Linked DNA regions of Homo sapiens: regions 2 and 3 are each linked to region 1. Evidence: promoter capture Hi-C in 16 types of primary human blood cells and fetal thymus (Javierre and others, 2016). All regions are on one chromosome and are shown on one strand. The core of a region is centred on a gene start or on the middle of the fragment in contact, and the rest is flanking DNA. Distances in the headings are between cores, read along the strand shown.

What was found. Contacts are between HindIII fragments. The CHiCAGO score rates a contact against its expected background, and 5 or more counts as called.
Region 2: a fragment that was not itself captured here is called in contact with the fragment with the promoter of PSMD7 in region 1 in 4 of 17 cell types (monocytes, naive CD8 T cells, naive CD4 T cells and 1 more); the score reaches 7.9 in monocytes.
Region 3: the fragment with the promoter of HSBP1 here is called in contact with the fragment with the promoter of PSMD7 in region 1 in 4 of 17 cell types (naive CD8 T cells, naive CD4 T cells, total CD4 T cells and 1 more); the score reaches 7.4 in naive CD8 T cells.

What each region holds. Positions count from the first base shown.
Region 1 is chr16:74,294,288-74,298,063 of GRCh38, reverse strand. PSMD7 (proteasome 26S subunit, non-ATPase 7) reads right to left here and starts at 1,250. Exons shown (of 7, transcript NM_002811.5): 1 at 1,076-1,250. The coding sequence starts at 1,149. RefSeq lists enhancers at 236-1,125, 1,026-1,335, 1,126-2,017. The HindIII fragment of the contact is 3,645 bases long and covers 1-1,917 here.
Region 2 is chr16:81,076,734-81,080,587 of GRCh38, reverse strand. It overlaps C16orf46 (chromosome 16 open reading frame 46), which reads left to right and starts at 3,350. Exons shown (of 4, transcript NM_152337.3): 1 at 3,350-3,452. RefSeq lists enhancers at 2,268-2,926, 3,039-3,088, 2,927-3,587, 3,679-3,818. The HindIII fragment of the contact is 2,067 bases long and covers 323-2,389 here.
Region 3 is chr16:83,806,568-83,810,097 of GRCh38, reverse strand. It overlaps HSBP1 (heat shock factor binding protein 1), which reads right to left and starts at 2,120. Exons shown (of 4, transcript NM_001537.4): 1 at 1,977-2,120; 2 at 1,352-1,418; 3 at 673-793. The coding sequence starts at 2,021. The coding sequence ends at 675. RefSeq lists silencers at 1,684-1,973, 1,991-2,167 and an enhancer at 1,825-2,326. The HindIII fragment of the contact is 4,790 bases long and covers 1-3,530 here.

The DNA of each region.
Region 1 (3,776 bases), core at 1-2,500:
GTCTCAGCCTCCCAAAATGCTGGGATTACAGGCGTGAGCCACCATGCTCGGCCTCGTGTTTTAAATAAAAACTGAAACCTCATCTATATATACATTTTTTTTTTTGAGACGGAGTCTAATCAGATTCCCATTTAAAAATGTTAATGGGTTAAAACCACAGCTGATCCAGGAAGCCCTTCGGGGTGCTGAGCATCATCCAGATTTCGATAACAGGAACTCGGTCAAATGAAGACAAACATAGATACGACCCTGGGGGCGGGGGTCAGGGCCAAATTGAAGCTAGCCCCCTTAGCCCCACTCCGGCATCATCCAGGCATCATTCACTTTGCATCATTCACATTTCGGTGAAATCAACTTGGTTAAACGAGGATAAACATAAATACGACCCTGGGGCCGGGGTCAGGGCCAAATGAAGGTAGCCACCCTGCACCCCACTCCAGCATCATCCATATTTCGGTGAAACCAATTCGGTCAAACGAAGATAAACATAGCCTTGGGGCGGGGCTAAATGGAGCTAGCCCACTCCGCCCCACCCAAGCATCATCCAGACATCAGTCACTTTGCATTATTCACATTTCAGTGAAATCAACTGAGTCAAATGAAGATACGACCCTGGGGTCGGGGGTCAGAGCCAAATGAAGCTAGCCCGCCTCCGCCCCACCCTGGCTTTATCCAGATTTCGGCAAAACGAACTTCAAAACGAAGTGACAGACACGAGCTTGGGGGCGGGGGTCAGGGCCAACTAAAGCTAGCCGCATCTCCCGACCCCCAGCATCATCCAGATTTCGGTAAAACGAACTTCGGCAAAACGAACTCGGAAAGGGAACTCTGTAAAACAAACAGGCTAAACGGAACAGGCAGCCAAGGCCCCGAAGTGGCGGCGGCTGGGGCAGGGGCGGGAGGCTGGATGACTCCGGCATCGTGAGCCGACGCTGGTCTGGACTCGTGAACAAGTAAGGGTCACCAGCCGCCCTATCTGCGTCCCCAGCTCGTCCGCGGCCGCCGCGCCATCTCCAGCGTGCCCGTGACTCAGCAGCGGCTGCGCCGCCGGCCCAGCTATAGGGCGCTCGCTCACCGGTTGAAATGATCCACCACACTGAGCAGCACCAGGGGGTGGACCACCACCTTCTGCACTGCCAGCTCCGGCATCGCGACACACCCCGCTCGCCAGGCCTGGCTCCCTGCCACACGCAAACACCGGCAGCAGTAGCGGTCACCGGTACCCTTTCAGGCCCAGTTCCTCTTCTTCCGGTTCGTCAGCCCTCGCGCGGCCTCCTTCTTCCGCTCCCAGAGTGCCTCGCGCGGCGGGCCCGGATCTTCGCCACCGCCGTCATTTGTGGGCGGAGAAAGGGCTGGAGAAAGGCGGGAATCGCCCCTCGTCCCTCGCCGTGCGTTTCCCTGGACTTAAGGGCCGAAGGGACACCGGCGACTTGACCTCCTGGTATTGGCCTGTACCGTCACCTGCAGAGGCTTTTCGCCTCAATTCCTTCCCAGCACCCTCCCCCCGCCACCCCCCCAAAGTAAATAGTTGACAGTTTACTTTTCTACCACCCGGAAGAAGTTCACTTTTGCTTCAGGTCAAAATCCTCCGCGATTTCTGAGAGGAACTTTAAATCTCTAACATAAGAGCACGCTTTTAATGTAATTTGGTAATTTATCTCATTCTCGTTTTCATTGCCGGGGGAATTTCTCCTTTATCTTTACTGTGGACACTTTGCAATGAACGTGGCAACCTGCAGGTTTCCACCTGTCGTTATATTACTGCGTAACTAGGGCTAGAAGAACGCAATTGTGCCGTTGCTTTTGAAATCAAAATTTACAGAAGCGTTGAAGAAAAGACGGAAGGAAGGCAGTAAGGAAGTATGTTGTGATATGTAGCTAGGAAAGAGAAGACTAAGGTAGACAAAGACTTAAGCTTATTTGCAGGAGGCAAATTATAAGAAAAATCATACAGGTTTATATCGTCTCATTTGAAGTTGCTGTTTCTGTAAACGAAAACAGTACTTAAGCAACCTGAATTATTTACTTATATTTTGTTCTGTTTTTAAACAATTTTTGCTTTCCCTTTATCACCAGAGGATTTTCCCAACATTTTGGCCTCTTGTCTTTTTAAGGTGGACTTCCTGATCTCCAAATGTCAAGGGACACACTCAGTCTCTCTTATTTGTGGGTGGTGAAAAACATTAGCAAAGATTAGACTGAAATTTGGCCACCAATGAGAGACATTAATGTAGTCAGGAGTTTGAATTTGTCTGCATGTGAATTTATCTTTGTCTTCTGTCTGCAACTTGGCTTTATTTTCAGATTTTCTGCTAGATCTGCAAGGAAGTAAATGGCAGGATATGCTTAATATTCATAATTAATTGAAGAGACTCAATGCTATCTTTATTTTTTCATTTTTTTTTTTGGTACAGTTGGTGTCTCACTATGTTGTCCAAGCTGGTCTTAAACCCCCAGCCTCAAGCAATCCTCCCACCTCAGCCTCCCAAACTGCTGGGATTACAGGTGTGAGCTACTGTGCCTGGCCATTCATTCTTAATTATAACTAGAAAGATATAAGGGTTATGTTAATGGGGAAAGAAAACTAAGAATTATTGAATCTATTGAGTGCCTATAATATGCCAGCCCTGGTTCAGACGCAAATATTTAATCCTTTTAATTAATGCTTCTCAAACTTTGATATGCTTACAAATCACCAGGGGACCTTGTTAAAATTCAGATTCTGATTCTGTAGGTCTGAGATGGGACCTGAAATTCTGAGCTTCTAACAAGCTTTCAGGTGAGGCCCATGCTGTGTTAACAAGGCTTGTAACAACCTTACGAAGTCGGTATTTTCTCATTACAAATGAAAATTGTTGCTCAAATGTTGCTCTCGAGGTGGGCTTTTTCTCACGCTTTGAAAAAATTTTGTCTTTCTCCCCCTAATGTGTTTCTGCTTTAGTTTTCTCCATAGTTTTTACCACTTGTGAATAGTTTGTAGAATTTACTTATTCTGTTCATTCTTTGTCTCTCATTAGAATGTAAGCTCTTGTTTAGTTTGTAAACTCCTGTTTACTTTTTTTTTTTTTTTTAAATAAATGAGAGACAGTCTCGCTCTGTCACCCAGTCCGGAATGCAGTGGCACAATCTTGGCTCACTGCAACCTTCACCTCCCAGGTTCAAGCGATTCTCATACCTCAGCCTCCCAAGTAGCTGGGACTACAGGTGAGCGCCACCATGCCCCACTAATTTTTCTATTTTTAGTAGAGATGGAGTTTCACTGTGTTGGCCAGGCTTATCTGGAACTCCTGAACTCAAGTGATCTGCCTGCCTTGGCTTCCCAAAGTGCTGGGATTATAGGTGTGAGCCACTGCACCTGGCCCCTAGTTTACTTTTATATTATCATTGTCTTGAAAAGTGCCTGGCACATAGGAGACATTCAGTAATTACTATATAAATGAATAATTAGTTATGATAGTGAAATGGAAGATGACAATAAGGCTCAGACATTGGGAAGGATCTTTCCAAGATCACATTGCTGGTCAGGATCAAGCCAGGTTTCTGTGACCCCAGTTCCTAATTGGTTGGTGTGCCTGCTTGCAGCAGTCTTAGGCAAAAGAATTGCATTAATTTTATTAAGATACTAAATTTCAAACTTTAGAAAGTGATATATTTTATTTCACACTGAGTTCACTTTGCAGTTGTACTAAGCCTAAGCAAGCTGTTTCGAAGCTTATTGGGTGTCTCCAATCCTGACTCACTGAAGCAGTGTGAAACTGACTATGAGCTTAAAAAAT
Region 2 (3,854 bases), core at 107-2,606, 6.8 Mb before region 1:
TGAAAGTCCGTGAGTGGTTATAGTCTCTGAAGAAGGTGGGCAGTTTTTTATTTTTCCCTTTTCCTGCCAAAGACACACATAACTTGCTCTGTAACAACCCCTCTTTTTTCAAAGAGCAGAACATTTGGCAACTTGCTCTTCCACTATTTAGAACACAGAGCCAAATCCACTGTCATTGATGTCACAGTGCTGCCAAAAATACAGGCTTTGAATGGCCCTCCAAATTGACTGAATCCAGGGAATTTAATTTTCATGACCTCATATTCCTTTTGAATGGTTTTGGCATTAGTAGAGCAGATTAATAGAAGTTTTGAAGAAAGCTTTCTAGTAACTAAAACTTGAGAAACTGAATAGGTTACCCTGCAAGTGTTAAATTTTTTTTCTGCTATCACCTCCCAGGTAGTTTTGTCGTTAGCTTTAGGTTTTGTTTTGTTTTTTGTTTTGTTTGAGACGGAGTCTCGCTCTTTTGCCCAGGCCCTCCACCTCCCGGATTCAGGCAATTCTCCTGCCTCAGCCTCCAGGGTAGCTGGGAATACAGGCACCCGGACCACGACCATGCCCAGCTAATTTTTGTATTTTTAGTAAAGATGGGGTTTCGACATGTTGGCCAGGCTGGTCTCAAACTCCTGACCTCAGATGATCCACCCGCCTCGGCCTCCCAAAGTGCTGGGATTACAGGTGTGAGCCACCGCGCCTGGCCAGTTTTAGGTTTTAATAAACCACTAGGGAGCTCTGCATGGGCATACTACTATGAAAATGAGGCTGGCCATTCAGATCAGTTCCTCAGCAAATCAGAATTTCTGAATTTTTTCAATTTCTTTTCTTTTTCTTTTTTTTTTTTTTTTTTTTTTTTTGAGATGGAGTCTGGCTCTGTCGCCCAGGCTGGAGTGCAGTGGCGCGATCTCGGCTCACTGCAAGCTCCGCCTCCCGGGTTCACGCCATTCTCCTGCCTCAGCCTCCCGAGTAGCTGGGACTACAGGCGCCTGCCACCTCGCCCGGCTAATTTTTTGCATTTTTAGTAGAGACGGCCTTTCACTGAGTTAGCCAGGATGGTCTCGATCTCCTGACCTCGTGATCCATCCGCCTCGGCCTCCCAAAGTGCTGGGATTACAGGCGTGAGCCACCGCGCCCAGCTGCTGAATTTTTCCAATTTCTATAGTTTTTCTGGGGCTACTAAAAAGAGCACAGTTTAAAAAATTATGCTAACTACAAGCGTGTCTTTTTTACTGTGTTCTTTCAGACCAAATCACACCTTCCTTCCCATACTTAAAGAGGTGCCTTTCTTTACACCAGGATTAAATTCCTCTTTCTTCCCTGCAACAGGCCTTTCCTGCCGCCCAGGCTGGAGTGCAATGGTGCGATCTTGGCTCACTGCAACCTCCACCTCACGGGTTCAGGTGATTCTCCCACCTCAGCCTCCTGAGTAGCTGGGATTACAGGCGTCCATCACCACACCCGGCTAATTTTTGTATTAGGGTTTTGAAATGGGGTTTCGCCATGTTGGCTGGGCTGGTCTTGAACTTCTGACCTCAAGTGATTGACCCGCCTCAGCCTCCCAAAGTGCTGGGATTACAGGTGTGAGCCACCGCACCCACCCATCTCCCTTTAATTTTAAAAAATAGATATGGGGTCTTGTGACACTTCCCAAGCTGGTCTCAAGTGATTCTCCTGCCTTAGCCTCTCCTGTGAGTAACTGGTATTACAGACGCAAGCCACCACTCCTGGCTTTTTTTCTTTAAAATACATTTTATGTGTTAGAGGAAGTTTACAGTCACAGCAAAATTGAGGAGAAGGTACAGTTCTGTACGCTTCCATTCTCCGTTTTTGCAAAGTGGGATCTTACTATAAGTAGAGTTTCTGGTATCTTGACTCAATTCCTATGTTGACTTTTTATAAACATAACTAGCCAAACCCTTGTCCCTTCATGTTTCCACTCAATCATGCTATCGGGCTTTTACCTGCTAAATGCAGGAATAGTTAGTGTGAAGGAAGTCAGGTTCTAGATCCTCCAACTTCCCCATGTACTTGCCGTTAGGTTATTTAATTAATATTCATTTAGCAAATCTTAGTTAAGACTTTTGGTATACTTCCCAGAAACTTTTTTCTAATATGCAAGGTCTTGCACTGTTTCCCAGGCTGGAGTGCAGTGACACAATCATAGCTTACTGCAACCTTCAACTCCTGGGCTCAAGGGAGCCTCCTGCCTCAGCTGGGATTCCAGGTGTGAGCCACGGTGCCCAGCTGTTTTCAATAGATCTGAAGGAAGACCAAAACAAATTGTCAACTGATAAAACATTTAAATGTTTTTGGTTAATACTTACTAGCTTGAGATACAATAAAACCCCTTTTATTTGCATCTTCCTATTTATGTGAACAAGGTACCTAAGCTTACACGTATGAAAAAAGTTGGAATAGAATTATAGCTGAATCCGTCTCATTGGAGCAATCACAGTGCTAGAGAACTTAGATACCAAAATTTTTTTTGAGACTTGAGTTTTGCTCTCCAGGCTGGAGTGCAGTGGTGCCATCACAGCTCACTGCAACCTCCGCCACCCGGGTTCGAGCCAGTCTCCTGCCTCAGTTTCCCAAATAGCTGAGATTACAGGCGCCCGCCACCACACCCGGCGAATTTTTGTATTTTTAGTAGAGACACGGTTTCGCCATGTTGACCAGGCTAGTTTCGAACTCCTGATCTCAGGTGATACACCCACCTCGGCCTCCCAAGTGCTGGGATTACAGGCGTGAGCCACCGCGCCTGGCCTAGATACCGGTTTTCTACAGCAGAAATAGTCACACTTTCTAAAGCAGAAGGGCTTTGGAGTCAGACCCGAGCTGGAGTGGGGGATGCTTTGCGATCTCTCTTCAGCAAGCTGTTGTTTTAGGGACGTGGGGCCACCTTCCTTTATTTGTATAAAAGATGCCACTGCCCACTTAAGAGCTGTGCTGCTCCGGGCCAGCAGTTCAGCGAGTGCCCGTCGGCCTGGTGCTGTCGGTCACGTAAGTGGGCTCTTTGAGGCTCACAACGCGTCCTCCCTGGACGTTCTGGGCCTGTTAAGTTTGTGTCCGTGGGAAACGCTCACGGCGGTTCCCCAGAGGGCCGAGGGAGAAAAGTGAGGACGTTTCTGGCCGCCTGGCATCTGCTAAATATCCTAGCAGGCACAAGGGCTCCCCAACGGGACTCGCCGACCCGAGAGCCCGGGTGGGCCTCAAGCCCCGCCATCTGAGACCCTCCGTCGCTGGCCCTTCCGGCGGCAGCGCCCGGAGCGGATAGGAGATGCCACGAACCGCCTCGCCAGTGCTAGGCTTTGTTGGGCTACGTCACTTCCGCCGCGGTCCCGCCCCCAGCGTGGTCGTAACCCAAGGCAACGGCCCATCCGGCAGCGACCTGAGTAGCTCTTGCCAGTAGGCCGGGACTAGCTGTCTCGGGGCCTTCCATCCGCTTGGCCCCACAGGTAGGTGTGAGCGGCCATTTCTCCACCCCTGGGGCAAGGCCCGGGACCACTCCAAAGGCGACAGAGCGAGAGTCCCTGCCTCGTTCGAAAGGAAGCGAGAGGGAGCGAAAGGCAGAGGCACTATGTGCCGGGGCTTCCCCAGAGCGGGCGGGGTCTGGGGAGGGGCGGGGCCTGAGGAGGATCCGTTGGGAGCGGAACCCTTTAAGGGTGGGTAGACGGAGGACGGGGAGGAATTCGAACGGGCAATCCAGAACGCTTTTCTGAATGGGATAGTTTGAAAGAAGGGCAGGCGTCTTTGTGGCACGGTAGGAACTGGCGGAGGAAGGGGAAGAGCTAGATGAGGAAAAAAGGCTTATGGCATAAAGGGAGGAGCCTGATAGAGAAAGGGGTGTGGCCTGCAGG
Region 3 (3,530 bases), core at 871-3,370, 9.5 Mb before region 1:
ATGGAAAATCTTCCAGTGACAGGCTTTATAGGCCAACAAAAAGACACCTTAATTATTAGCTGGAATGATAAAAACTCAGTGGTTATCTAATGTTAGCCAGTGGTCTTCACTAATAGTGACAGAAGTCTAATTAATAAAAACTGGGAAAATAAATTCGGTGTAAAGAATGAGTTTGGCATGAAAAATTTCAAAACATCAAGTCCACAGCAGGTAAACAATACAGTGATGCTTGCTGGGATCATGGCTGGGAACTGATCTACAGAATGTCTGACTACATACAAATTATACTTACAGGTTCTCTCTATTCTTTTAAGACAAAATAAAAAAAAAGACCGGGCACGGCGGCTCACACCTGTAATCCCAGCACTTTGAGAGGCTGAGGCGGGCAAATCACTCAAGGTCAGAATTCGAGACCAGCATGACCAACATGGAGAAACCCCGTCTCTACTAAAAATACAAAATTGGCTGGGTGTGGTGGCACAAGCCTGTAATCCCAGCTACTCGGGAGGCTGAGGCAGGACAATCGTTTGAACCCAGGAGGGCAAAGGTTGCAGGGAGCCGAGATCGTGCCATTGCACTCCAGCCTGGGCAACAAGAGCAAAACTCCGTGTCAAAAAAAAAAAAAAAAAAAAAAAGAAAAGAAAAGAAAAAAAAAATTGCCCCCTTCCTCACCTTCAACTCTTTTGCGTGGCAGGTATCTTGTTTTCACTTTCCAGTTCTTCCACCCCAGCCTGTGTCATGAGGTCCGCGATATTCTTTTCCAGATCATCAATGCGACTACTCATATCATCAAGTGCTGAAGTTAAAGACAACGCGTGCCAACATCTCATTGAGCCTTTTTCCTCCCGTCCCTGCAGACTACAGCCTTAAACACAACGACTTTAGGGAAACTGGTCTTCCAATTTTCTTTCGACACTGTTACACGCTGGTGGGTAAGAGTACAGGACTGTGGGGCATGGCTACCCCGCATCGGATTCCAGCCCTGACCCTTACTAGTGATGGAACCCCTAAACCTCAATTTATTCATTTGCTAAAGATGATAACACTACAACCCACTCATAAGGTCATGCTGAGCATCAAAAGACACACACAAAAGCGCTTAGTTCACAGTGCATGGTCCACCACACCAGCTATTAGGATTGGTAGACGTATGCTCCTTGAGCCAGGAGTCTAACTCAGCTTTGCCCCTAGCTCTCGGCGCAGTCCTTCTCAGAAACACAGTACAATCCAAGCTCAAATTCTACAAGTGAATGGCTGAAGCTAGCCTGAAAACTACTCATTTATCCCCACCACTGCCCGGCAAATAGGCTCCAAAGGCCCACAGGAGGCCGACTGCAGATAAAAAGGATATTTCTCCCAATGATCTGGTCAGACATGGTCTGAAATTTATCTTGCATCTGCTGCAGGAGTGTCTGCACCTAAGAAAAACCGAAACAAACAAACACGGTCCACATCGATCCTGAGACAACTTCCTGGGATCAGGACGCAAGCCCTGGTCCCGGGGTTCCAGCCCCATTTCTGCCTCTGGACAGCTGTGCGGCCTTCAGCAAGATCTTCCTTCTCTGGGCTTCCGTTTTCCAACCTGTCCAATTAGACTGCTGGGCTGGGGAGGCCGCTGCGACTCAAAGCTCAGGGTCTTTAGGTTGTTTCTGCCGGGCTGGGGCACCCGGGGGTGTGTGAGGAGTTGAAGGGCGGGGAGGGTGTCAGAGGTAGGCGGGAGGGACCCGGAGGGCGTTCGCGACAGATGAATGGGGCTACTGGAAGGGGTCGGGCTTGGGGGCGCCCGCGGGGAGACTGGCCCGCACCGAGCGCCCCGGGGGTCAAGGTGGCCGGGAGCCTCGGCCAGAGACGCTTCCAGAAACGGGGCCTCGGCAGACGCCACGCGCGGCCGCGGTGGGCGCGCCTCTGTCCAGCAGGGCTTGGCCCGGCGCCGCCCGGGAAGGCCGCGGCCTCCGGCCCTCACAGCCGTCCCTTACCACCGAGGTGAGGTCCTGCACGGTCTTGGGGTCAGTCTCGGCCATCTCCCCGATGCCCAGCTTGGCGGTGATGTCTCAGACCGTAACCTACACTTCCGTTTGTCCGCTCAGTCGCCCCGGGCCGCTGCTTCTCGCGACGAGACTGGCAGCTCGCGGGACCGCGGGGCATTATGGGAGTAGTAGTTTCTCCCGCACCGGAAGGGCCTCGAGGCCGCGCGCTTCCGTTCCAAGGAGCGGCCCCACCCCACTCTCCCCGCCTTCTTTCGCATAGCCCCTCCCCTCCCTCTATGCCCCGCCCCTCACGCAGCGCGCCGTCAGTGGGGTGGAAAGTGAGACCAACTCAGAAATGGAGCAATAGAGGCAGGGAGTGGTCTTGGCCTCTCTTCCAGGCTGTAGTCAGTCGAAAGACGGCTCTGGGGTTTCTTTGGCCTGTCGGGACGAACTTACAGAACTTTTGCCCTTCAACAAGCCCCACTGTACCCTTGTAACTGCCCCCAAGCCAAGGAACATGACCCACCCCTACCCGCCCCGGGAGCCCCATGGCTCCTGTCCTGTTCTGTCATCTCCACCCTATGAAGGTGGCCAGCGTCTGGAGTTTAGCCCAGTAGGTTCATTGTGCCCGTCAGGTTCATATGAGGGGATTCAGACAGGAAGCTGTCCATCATGCCTGGCTTCTTTCACTCCACGCAATGCCTGCTGTTGAGTGGGGAAGGCTTCCGGCATCAGGGTTAGACTGTGGGTTTGGGTGTTGAAGGAGGTGGGCACTGCTGATTTGGAACCTCAAGTTCCAACCCCACAGGTGGTCTTTAGGATTGGGTCTCATGGCAAGGGGATAGGAGAGTCCTTGACTGCGGGCCTGGCATGTTCTGGAAACTTTCACACATCTCATTTAAGGACTGTGCTATGTGAGGGGTCAGCTCCAGTTTGACTTTAGCTAGGGAGAGGCTGTAAGGTGTTAGAGCTGTTACGGGAAAGGGTCCTGATCCAGACCCCAAGAGAGGGGGTTCTTGGATCTCATGCAAGAAAGAATTCAGGGCGAGTCTGTAAAGTGAAAGCAAGTTTAAGAAAATGAAGGAATAAAAGAATGGTTACTCCATAGACAGAGCCCTGAGGGCTGCTGGTTGCTCATTTTTATAGTTATTTCTTGATTATATGCTAAACCAGGGGTGGGTGATTCATGCCTCCCCTTTTTAGACTATATAGCGTAACTTCTTGACGTTGCCATGGCATTTGTAAACTGTCATAGCGGTAATGGGAGTGTAGCAATGAAGACAAGCAGGGTTCACTCTTATTGCCATCTTGGTTTTGGTGGGTTTTGGCCGGCTTCTTTACCGCAAGCTGTTTTATCAGCAAGGTCTTTATGACCTGTACCTTGTGCTGACCTCCTATCCCATCCTGTGACTTAGAATCCTTTAACTGTCTGGGAATGCAGCCCAGTAGTTCTCAGCCTCAGTTTACCCAGCTCCTATTCGAGATGGAGTTGCTCTTGTTCAAACGCCTCTGCCAGACCCACCAGTGTCTCTAACAAACCCGGAATCCAGTTGGCCTTGAGGC